Regions from separate parts of the Homo sapiens genome. Here region 2 is linked to region 1. Evidence: promoter capture Hi-C in 16 types of primary human blood cells and fetal thymus (Javierre and others, 2016). All regions are on one chromosome and are shown on one strand. The core of a region is centred on a gene start or on the middle of the fragment in contact, and the rest is flanking DNA. Distances in the headings are between cores, read along the strand shown.

Region 1 (5,291 bases), core at 748-3,247:
CTAAAAAAAAAAAGGAAAAATTAATAAAAAAGATTCTGTTGTTATGTAAGTTGAGAAAAATCTTTTCATAATATACTTCTTTTGGAGATTTCCAGTCCACAATAGCCTTTTAAAGACTCTATGAAGTCCTATGGTTAATTTTTTAGAAGTATGTTCCTTTGTTTAAATAAGCATTTCTGAATTTATTTGGCACACAGTTCTGTTAATCCATAATACCTATTAACTTTAGAAAATTCTAGTTACTGTAAAGAAATGCACGTTTAAAAAGCCTGTAATATGTATAATGTAAGCCCAAATTACAAGAGAATTTAAAATTTTAAACAATAAAATATAAAAATAATTTAAAGTAAGTTACCCTTTATTTAATGCCTACTTTGTATCAGATACTAGAAATTCTAATCCATGTGTAACATTTTAAATCCTTGGATGATTCTCTTTTTATAGACAATGTAAGCCCCTCACAAGTGATAATACAGTCAGAGTCAATGAGTAAATTAGTAAAGCCCTAAAACAAACTCAGATCTGACATCAATGTCTGTGCTCAGTCCTGCAGAGAACACTACTTCAGCAAATCTTCAGCATTTCAACTACACTAAAATTAAAATGAATTTGTGAGATAGCTGGAGAACCACACACACAATTCATACTTCATATCACAATCCACTGAACAGAAAGTGGCTTCCATGCCACCACTTTTTATTATGTGCCACCTGAAACTTACCGGAAAAATATACTCATAAGCAAAGGGTATAGAAGTGGGTGTGTGGTCATGGGCAGAGAAGCCAGGAGCAGTGAAAAGGACAGGTTCTTAGCTGCAGCAGGTGGTCCCTGAGCCACCTATTTATAGTCGTTGCTCTATGAAAGAGCAAAGTTAATTTGGGGAAAAAGTCCTAGAGACTACCAAGCTATCACTGAAAGAAAAAGAAATGTTCATTAACTGCTAAAATTTTTAGTACAGCACATAAGAAACTTTACAGTGAAATCTAATTTCTGTCACTCATTTTAACCAAGAAAATGACGATTCTGTTACAATTTAAAATGTATCTAATGTGTAACTAAGTTTTCAAAATTTGACATTTGCCATGGTCTCTAAAGAGCTATATATAACCTCTGCTTCTGTGCTTTCCACTCTTGAAAAACTGTGAATAGGATGAACTTTAAAATAAGTATAAATGCTGAAATCTAAGTTCGATACGAAAAGGCTCAAGACGACATCTCAACATTTATTATGCTGACGTCCATTGAAACATAGATAACTATGTCAATGACGGTAGAGAAATATTTTTTGCACAATCCCACATTCTAGAAAGGAATACACGTGTCCCAATGCCTCCTGCTCTTGCAAAAGCCAGAAAAAAGTAGCATGGGAGGGAAGGGGAAGGCGAGATTCAGGGCTGCCAGTTCTTTTTGACAACTCCTTATGCACTAGCGGAGTGAGCCAGAGGACAGTGAAAGAGCACTAGGCGCTAGCAGTGATGACAAGCAAGTCTGGCACTGAACGCGCGCAGCGAACAGGAGTAGTAGACGCGCCGACTTACTCTGCACCTGCAGGTCCATCTCGCGCATTTCCGTGAAGCGGTCCCGCAGATCCATAGGAAGCTGCTCAATCACTGTCAAAGGGAGAGTCCGTCAGAGGGGCGGGGCCAACGGCGAAATACGCGCTTACGTCACTGCGCGCGTGCGTCAGGGGGGTCGAGGGGGCCGGCAGCCCACAACGAGGCTGCCAGTTACCGTGAGAAAGAAACATCCCCCGCCGCCCCCTCCCTCCCGCCATCTCGCTGCCCGTCCACTCGCGCTCTTGCCCGCCCGCACGTCCCACTGGCGGCCGCCGCCAGCGCCGCGCACTCACTTTCCAGATAGTCTTCTAGGTACAACATCGCGGCCCTTAGAGCTGAGGGAACAAGGGGGTCCAGGGGTTTATTTGTGTCACTCGCTGTCGCCGGAGTTTTGTCCCCTCCAATATGGCGCCTCCGCTAGCAGCACCCGCTCGACTCCGGCAAAAAAAAAAAAAGAAAAAAAAAAAAACCACTTTGGCGCCTGAGGCGCTTGCCTCACTGCCGCCCGGAGCTGCTATTGGTTGGTTCAAGCAATGACGTAGCCCGGCCGGTGTTCGCCCCCGTGCCTCTGTGGGAAATGTAGTTTTCTTCCTCCTCAGCGAGGGTTGGCGCGCTGGCGGCTCCCCTCGCAGAAACTACGAATACCGGGCGCCATTGCAAACAGTGCGTAACAGAATCCGAAATGCGGTGCCTCTGTTTATTTGTTGATTTTTGCACAGAGAATGGCGGGAGTTGTATGCACCTGCATAACACAACTAGGAACAACTTTTCACCTGTTCTTTGATGTGATTCCATGCCCCGGCGTTTGTGAGTTATGGGTTTCAAGAAGTGCCAGGCAAATAGCAAAGGTTCTAAACACTAGAATAATCAGCAAAGTTCGGGGAATTTGGATTGCTTAAAATAGAACTCTCTACTGGAATTTATCCTCATTATTCACTCTAAAATATAAAAGAGACACCTGGTTGGCTTACGTGTAATTTTAAAATAGTTTATACTGAGACTATGGAGTGAATATACATTTCCCAGATTAAAAGATGCACAAATAGTGTCAGTAGCCACTTATATATTCTAGTTTGCGGTCCATCTAATCGTCATTCTAATGTAATTGATCTATACATACAATCTGCATCCGCAAATAATAATAATAATAATCTTCATCATCACAGTGAGCAGCCATGAATTACGGATGCAGCCTTGATTTCTAATAGGCTGTTAATAGCAGTAACTTTATGTTGAGTAAATAGTCCATATTCGAGGTTGGTTGTCTTCGGCGTTCTTTAGTTTCTACTTTTCGACCTCTCCCAGCAAATGTTTTCCTGTGATATATTTAGTACGTCCCTACTCAGTTTCTTTTTAAATTGTTTTTTATTAAAAACTCTTGCACTCAATAAATGCTAGATATTGTTATTTTCCACTCTTCTTAACTTTTCGATTTTCTGGGGAAATTGTCATTAGTTCATAATTTATTGTTCATTTTCTGTTTTTCAAATTGCAGTTGAAACTGTGTGTGTGTGTTTCTTGCTTTCCTTCTCCATTACATACTCTTGTACTCAAGGTTTTCACTGCTCTTAAGCAGGAAACTTTCCTGTCGTGAATGATGAATCATGATGAATCTCAACGGAACCTTACTTCGATCCTAATAAGAATTAGAATTTTATAGTTTCTAGTTAAGTTTTTCATTACTTCCATCGAAAATCAAGTACTTTCGATCTTTTTCTCCCTTCTTTTTTTCCTCCTTTCTTCGTTTCCCATCCTTCCTTCTTCTGGCTGCTTTTAACATCTCTTTGACATCTTTTTGCAGTTTTGTAGTGATCTAAGTCTGAATTCCTTCCTTATTCCCTTTTCTTTCCTTAAAATTTTAAAATTATGCTTAGGATTTGAGGGGATTCCTGAATTTCAGGATTGGTGCCCTGCAACAATTCTAGAAAATTCTCAGCGTTTGTCTTTTCAGTATTGCTTATTTCTCATTTTTTCCATTAAGACTTTCTCTCTTTATTCTCTTATTTATCTTAATCTTTCTTTTATATGTTTTATTTTAGAATTTTCATAATTTTTCAGGTTTGGAAGTTCTATTCGGTTCTCTTTTCAAGACATCTTATAATTTCTTATACAAATTATTTAGTCTGTATCTTGTTTCTGTTAAACCTAATATTGAAACATTTATGGGCCTTTTAGTGCTATTTCTTCAGAAATGGGCACTTTTACTCATGGTGGCTTTTTCCTGTTGGGTTGCGATTTTGGACTCTGAATTCCTGTTTCTGGGATTACAAGCATAAGGATTCTTTGAGCTGGAGTTGAAATTGAGTTTTCATGGAGAGCATTAGAATTTGCTTGTCAGTTTGTTTGGAGACATCATAAACCCCTAGGACCAGATTAAATTGTCCCCTTGAGGTTTATTGTATTGCACAGATAGATTGAATTTGGGCCTCTATCCCAAATGGATTGTTACAGATTCTCAGAGGAGAATTTTTTTTTCTTTCTTTACTGGGCTCCAAGGCCAAGACAGACATGTTTCATTACTGGCCTATTCTGTGCATGAGGCTTATATGTCATTTACCCTTACATGGAGAGTATAGTCCATTGGGGCCCCAGATTTTTGTCTGCTGTAAGACTCTTCCTTTTAAACTGATACTTGGGTTTATCTTCTGACCCTGGCATGCTGCACAGCTATTAAAGTAAGAGCTCTAGGTGTCCAGAACTTGACAGATAGTCTCTGAACAAAAGCCTACTTTGGCTTGCACTTATTTCTCAGGATATTTTCATTTTCCTTCTTTTTCCCCTTTTATATTCGTTCTGAAAATTCCTTAATTTCCTACTAGTTCATCAGTGTATTTTTTTAAATCTAGCACTTTTAGTTGTTTTTGCCAGGTGGCTCTTTCAGAGTAGCTAAAATGGTATGCTATCATGAATAGAAGTACATCATTTCAGTGTAAACTGAGCTTCCTCAGGGAGTGTTCCATATTAAGGGAAATGAGATAATAAATCATTCCCAATTCAGTCAGTATAAATACACACTCCACAGAAACCAAAAATAAAACTTACACACTGTATATTTTAGTTAAATAATGTAACTCTTATTGTTGGAACATGTATCAGCTGAGCTGCAACAATTATGTTTGCATAGGCTTGTGATAACTTCTTACATAATTAGGTCATACAGTAGATACCATTTTTGAGTGGCTGCCTACTTAAAACCAATACTGCATTTCCAGGGAGTGCCCCTCATATGGATTGACCATGTCTGTATCAAAACTCATTAATTTATCAGGGATTCACCAAAGCTGGACCTATCAGATGCATTTTCTTATGATTTGAAATTGGGAATGAAAAGACACAGAGACTGGCAACCTTACAGAAGTACAGGACAGTAAATACATGGCCCACAAACTCCTGCTGGTGAGAGCCCCCAGAGAAGCTCTACTTTTTCCCTTGCCTTTCCCCTCTTTCTTTGTCAGTTTCTCTAACGCTAGTTGTATAAACTTGAGAAAGTAATTTTAACACTCTGTGCCTTTGTTTCCTGATCTGTCAATGGGAAATAGAAACAGTAGCAGAATCATAGGAGTGTGGGTTGAAGTATTTTCTATGCAAAACACTTATATTAATGCCATATGAATGTTATGATTCAATAAATGTCAGCTGCTATTACCATGATTATTAATATCACATGTGTCCTCCTAAGTTACTCTTATTGCAGATATTCCTTTTTGCTGCTGTTAGTTCCACCTTGTGCCCCTG
Region 2 (5,291 bases), core at 1,448-3,947, about 12 Mb after region 1:
TACAGCCAGCAAAAGCTTTTTAATTCGGGAAAACACGATTGGACTTGCACTTTCAAAAGATTACCGTGGTTGCACAGAAGAGACTGACTGGGTCAGAGGTTAGTTACAGGCTGGAAAACCAGTTTAGATGAAACTGAAGAGCAAGGATGAAAGCCTGAACTAGAGCAGTGGAAATGCGAATGTGGAGCAGAGGAACGATTCAAGAAATTCTGCGGTAAAACTCATCAGACTTCATGACTGATTAAAGGTATGGTGGTAGACAAGGGAGGGAGAGGAAGGATAAGAATGGAGAAGCAGGAATTGGGCGTTATTTGAAAATTTCTGACATGGGAGGAAAATCTGGATATTTAATAACATCTGACTAAATTAGGGGATGAAAGAGCATAAGCGGAGAGGGAATGGTGGTGCTCTCTCCTTGACCATACTTTAGTTAGGCTCCTCTGAGCCCTCTTCCCAACTAGGCCTCATCCTTGGGCCCCTGTCTTAGGCCTGCTGAGTCCAGTTTTAGCAAGAATCTTGCAAAGTCAGTTTAGAGAGTATCTCCTAGCCTTGATAATTGATCATCTCCGCCTGTCTTCAGCAAGAATCTTGTAAGTCACTTTAACAAGAATATCCCCGACCCTTGATATCACTTCTTAGTAATTTTCCATGAACTGACCCCTCAGTCTGCTTGCTGGTTATAAATCCTAGCTGTTTTTGTTGTATTAAAACTTGAGGCCAATCTCTCTCCCCCATGGTGATAGTCATGGCACCTATTGCAATAGTTCTAAATGTCTTCCTTGACATTTTAACAAGTGTCAGAATAATTTTTCTTTAGCAACAAGGAGGAATCTGTCTCAAAAACTAAAGCTCCTTCCACACGCCTGTAAGGCTTAATTGGTGCATACATCTTTTAACTCTCCTGTAGCTAAATAACATGTCTGGCTTATCCACTGCTGGGGTTTACCAGGCATTATGATGTACATAATCCAGACACTGTGTCCCAAGAACATAGCAAGCTGGCTTTCCCTCCTTGATTTAAAAAAATCAAAACAACACAACTATCAGGGTAACATCCACTACATTTGACAGGTCAAAGAATCCCCTTCCTTAAGGACTTTACAATAACCTTACAGGGGGCTAAAGCATACATACCCATGGGTAGTGGGTAAGCCTTGAGAGTACAGTATAAGTCTTGATAACATTTTGAGGTTGATAACTAGTTGAAACTGATCTGTTTTCCCGACCTCAACGTAATTGCAAGGTCACTTCAAGAGGGTAAGGGGCTATTGCAACTACCCAAATTCGCTATTGTAGTATAAAAGCTTTAATTAACAGCATGTATAGGAATGCAAAGCTATGTTCTAATGAAACTTTAAAAAGCAGACACAAATATGAATGTCATATAATTGTCATCTGTCGCAAAACTTTTTTTTTAACCTTTGAAAAATGTGAAACCCATTTTTAGCTCCTAGTACAGCAGAACCTGCGGTGGGCTGGATTTGCCCTGAGGGCTGTAGTTTGCCCCTGTGGTACGTATGAAATGCCACAATTTTAAAAAGATGTGTTACGTGTGGGACCATTTGTGGGGCGGTTTATGCTAACTTCCAATACAGTAATATATGTCAACTCGCTTTTGAGTGACATTTAGTCTGGGTGGCCATGCCCAGGAATGGATATAGAGAAAGGGGCGCGGCCGCGCCGGGCACCACCCTCCAAGAGACTGGTATCGCAGCCCCCAGCTCCAAGGAACTCAGCGCAGGCAGGGGCTTCAGGGACGCGGAGAGGGAGGCTTATCTCTGCTGAAAGGGAATAGCGGCCCGCAAACAAGCAAACCAGGACACTGCTCCGAGGTCCCGCCCAGGAAGGCAAAACGAAGTCCCACCGCTCTCACACCCGGCAACCAACCAAGGCACAGCACGCCCCACCAGCAAGCCACGCCTCGCGCATCACGCACGCACGCACGCACGCACACACGTCTGTCGCGGCTTCCCGCCTTGCGCTCCGTCATGCTCTATTGCGCATATCTCGGGGCGGGGGAGGAACGGAGATTGACAAGGAGGCAGAGGCCTGAGCGAGGCGGAAAATCCTCACCCCGGCCCGCGGGTAGACCCAAACTTCTAGCGCGTCACTTCCGCTGGGGGCGGAGCGGGGCGGGGCTGAGTGGGTGGCGACCTAGCTGCTGCGCCAGTGTTTGTGTTGGAAGCTCAGCTGATGCAGGCCGGTTGGAGTGGACGTCATTGCCGGGAACGAGCGAGTCGCCGCTGCAGCCCTAGTGACTGCGGCCTGCATCCCGGTAAGTAGCCGCGAGGGGACAGGGGCGGGACGATAGGAGGCTGGTTGATCGTTCTGGACCCTTGTCCGGCGCTCCGGGTCGTCCTTTCTTTCTTTGGAGGGCACTTCCCGAGCGAGAGGGTGGGGACACGCCAGGCTTTGGGGAGGAGCTGGCGCTGGAAGGAGCCCGCAGGTCCTGGAGCTCATTGGTACTCGGCGCCCTCCGCCCCCGTGGGCTTTGCTGCCCCAGAAGCGCAAACCGTATTTGGTTTCGCAGGTCCCGCCCTGCTCCCCCTGTCCCATCCCCACGACTCCCTCCTCAATTTTCCAGAGTCTGTCTGCCTTCCCCTGGACTGTAGTGTTCTCCAGTAGTTAACTGGTCACTCTCAGGAGGGTTTCCCTAGTCTACATCATTCTCGACTGTCAGTGTGCACCTGGTGATTCTACTGCCTGATATTTTTTGTCAGTAATCTCTTTCTGACCCCATCCACATTTGATTCTATCCTTGACCGCTGTTGCTTAAGTGGATAAGGTGTATGAATCACTGTGTTGCAGTGCTTCCTATCCCTGTGTCATTTCTATCATTGTGCTGGAAGGAACCTGCTTTCCACGCCTAATACAATGATAACTTTAAAATGGTGACTCATAGGAAAAACTCAGGAGAGTTGTGACATAAGGGACTATCATATAATCCTGCTTAAAATACTGTTTTCAATTCCAAAACAGTTGTATCCTGGTTCTGCAGTCCTAATTTCTGAGAGTTCAAAAATGACAAATGTTTCAGTGTATTAAGAAAATGCTGTTAAACAGTGAAACATTAAGAGCTTATGCCTTGTGAGGCAGTTGTATCAAGCCCATTTTAGCTATTTTGTTAAATTGCTTATGCAAATTAGTTGTCCTTTCAATATAAGAACATGTTTTTATTTCGTAATTATAATCAACTTTTTCTTAATGTTGATCTCTTTTTTTATTTCTATATCAGGACTAAATTAAAATCTTGTAAACGCCCTTTTAATGAGTGATGTTGAATGAAAGGGCCAGTTTCACTAGTTTAGCTATTCACTTGTTTCACATGCAAAGTTGTTACAAGAACAGCCTGTACTTTGAGTTGTTTTTTTTTACCCCAGTTAGAGGGGTTGTGCTGAAGCTGCATATTGCTTCACTCATGGAATATATATTTGTAAAAAGGTCAGAGTTAGAATGCTGAGCCATAGACACCTTCCTGTCCTGCCATTTTTTGTTGTTGTTGGGAGTCTCTCTCTGTCGCCCAGGCTGGAGTGCCTTGGTGCGATCTCGACTCACTGCAAGGTTCAAACGATTCTCTTGCTTCAGCCTCCCGAGTAGCTGGGATTTACAGGCGTGCGCAACCACACCCGGCTAATTTTTTTAAGTAGAGACGGGTTTCCCCATGTTGGCCAGGCTGCTCTCAAACTCCTGGCCTCAGGTGATCCGCCCGCCTCGGCCTCCCAAAGTGCTGGGATTTCAGGCCTGAGCCACCGCACCTGGCCAGTCATTTCTTAGTTCTTATCTTTCTCTGCAGTACTCAAGTATTTTATTCTGTTCATTATCCATTACTTGAAAAAATTTGGTCCTGTCTTGGTTTTCAGTGTCCTGATTTTTTCAGGGTGGCTTTTCTCCTGTTTTGTTTCCTTTAGAGTCTTTTCTTCCTCTTCCTAGCTCTGGGTGGCACTCAAGGCTCTACCCCTGTCGCTCTCCCTAAACCAGAGTTTCGTGTTTGAAACCCAAATATACTTCAGTGGGCATGTGAATATCCTGAAATATTATGGAAAATATAGTTTGTATTGCAAATACACATTTTTCAAGGAAGAAAAGCTTTACTCAGGTTGCCTGATCCCAAAATAGTCATGTATTATTACTGTAAACTATCATCTGGTAAATACGTCTAATGTTGTGGTTTCTGCTGCCACTATGCTGGTAATTCCACAAGTAAATCCACAGTCTGTGTACATTTCCATTTGAATGTCCCACTGTTACTTCATCCTGTGAATCCAAAAGAAAATGTGTTTTTCTCTCCTATTAAATTGTCCCCTTCACAGTTTTCTCATATTCGCAAATGGCACTCTCCGTATTTTTCAGATTTAAAACCTTAGAGCTCTCTTAACACTTCCCTCTCTTTACCCCATTCTTGGCTGTCAAGTCCTGTGTTTTGTTGTTTTCTCTTTTTTCCCTTACTTTCAAAGTGTTCAGAGTGGCCCTCTTCCCCACACTAGTACTTGCTGGGTGAGGTGTCAGAGCCCCAGCATCAGAAAGTGGTCAGCTTGGGGTAGTAGGGTAGTAAGAAAAATTTACCGACAACACCGTAGGTTTGAAAAGGAAAGTTTTATTGGATAGAAAGAGTGCTGCAGAAGAGTGCAGCCAGGCGCCTCAGCAAGAGAGGACAGCTCACCGCAGTGGATTTTTTCTTAGGGGTATTTATGGACCTTAAAGCAGAAGCTGAAGGGTAACTTGGACCATATTAGCCACGTAGGTCATGATCAGTGATTACATTTATAGACATTTTGGTGCTTTGATATCAGCAAAAGTTGCACAGTGAGTTTCGACATGCATACATTCTGGACATGTATAGAGATTCTAGTTACTTATAAATTTCTGGGAAAGAATCCTGGTACCAGATGCCGGCTTTAGCTAATAGAGAAGTCTAATTGTTTCTGAATTCCTCAGATAAGGAGCTTTCCCTCTGGATGGTCTGCTCGATGGCCACCAGGTGATCTTTGCTCTCCTCAGTACTGTTACCTTCAGACTGTTGTCACCCTTTTGACTGTTATATTAATAATTAAGTGACATACTCTGTAAATTCATTCTTTCCATCCTTAGCTGGGTCTCCATCTAACAATTCCCTTAATTCCTCTAGTTAAAACTCCATTCCCTTCTCTAAGTGTTTGGTCCCAGCCTCTCCGTTTTGTTTTATTCGTACCTCCATTGTATTTATACTACCTCTATTCTTCCTTGCTCTTTTTTCAGTTGATGATAGCATCTCACTTTACATTCTTCTTCCTGTGTTTTTGCCATCTAACTTC

Evidence for each region. The method cuts DNA at HindIII sites, captures the fragments that hold promoters and counts their contacts. A CHiCAGO score of 5 or more calls a contact.
Region 2: a contact is called between a fragment that was not itself captured here and the fragment with the promoter of ING3 in region 1, in 2 of 17 cell types (neutrophils and total CD4 T cells). The highest score is 8.1, in neutrophils.

Annotation. Positions count from the first base shown.
Region 1 is chr7:120,947,483-120,952,773 of GRCh38, reverse strand. It overlaps ING3 (inhibitor of growth family member 3), which reads right to left and starts at 1,997. Exons shown (of 12, transcript NM_019071.3): 1 at 1,850-1,997; 2 at 1,539-1,610. The coding sequence starts at 1,877. RefSeq lists an enhancer at 1,375-1,454. The HindIII fragment of the contact is 9,487 bases long and covers 1-5,291 here.
Region 2 is chr7:108,523,013-108,528,303 of GRCh38, reverse strand. It overlaps PNPLA8 (patatin like domain 8, phospholipase A2), which reads left to right and starts at 2,169. Exons shown (of 11, transcript NM_001256007.3): 1 at 2,169-2,275. It overlaps LOC124901722 (a long non-coding RNA gene), which reads right to left and starts at 1,829. Exons shown (of 2, transcript XR_007060473.1): 1 at 659-1,829. RefSeq lists enhancers at 1,551-1,890, 2,181-2,300, 2,072-3,032, 3,712-4,247. The HindIII fragment of the contact is 2,782 bases long and covers 1,307-4,088 here.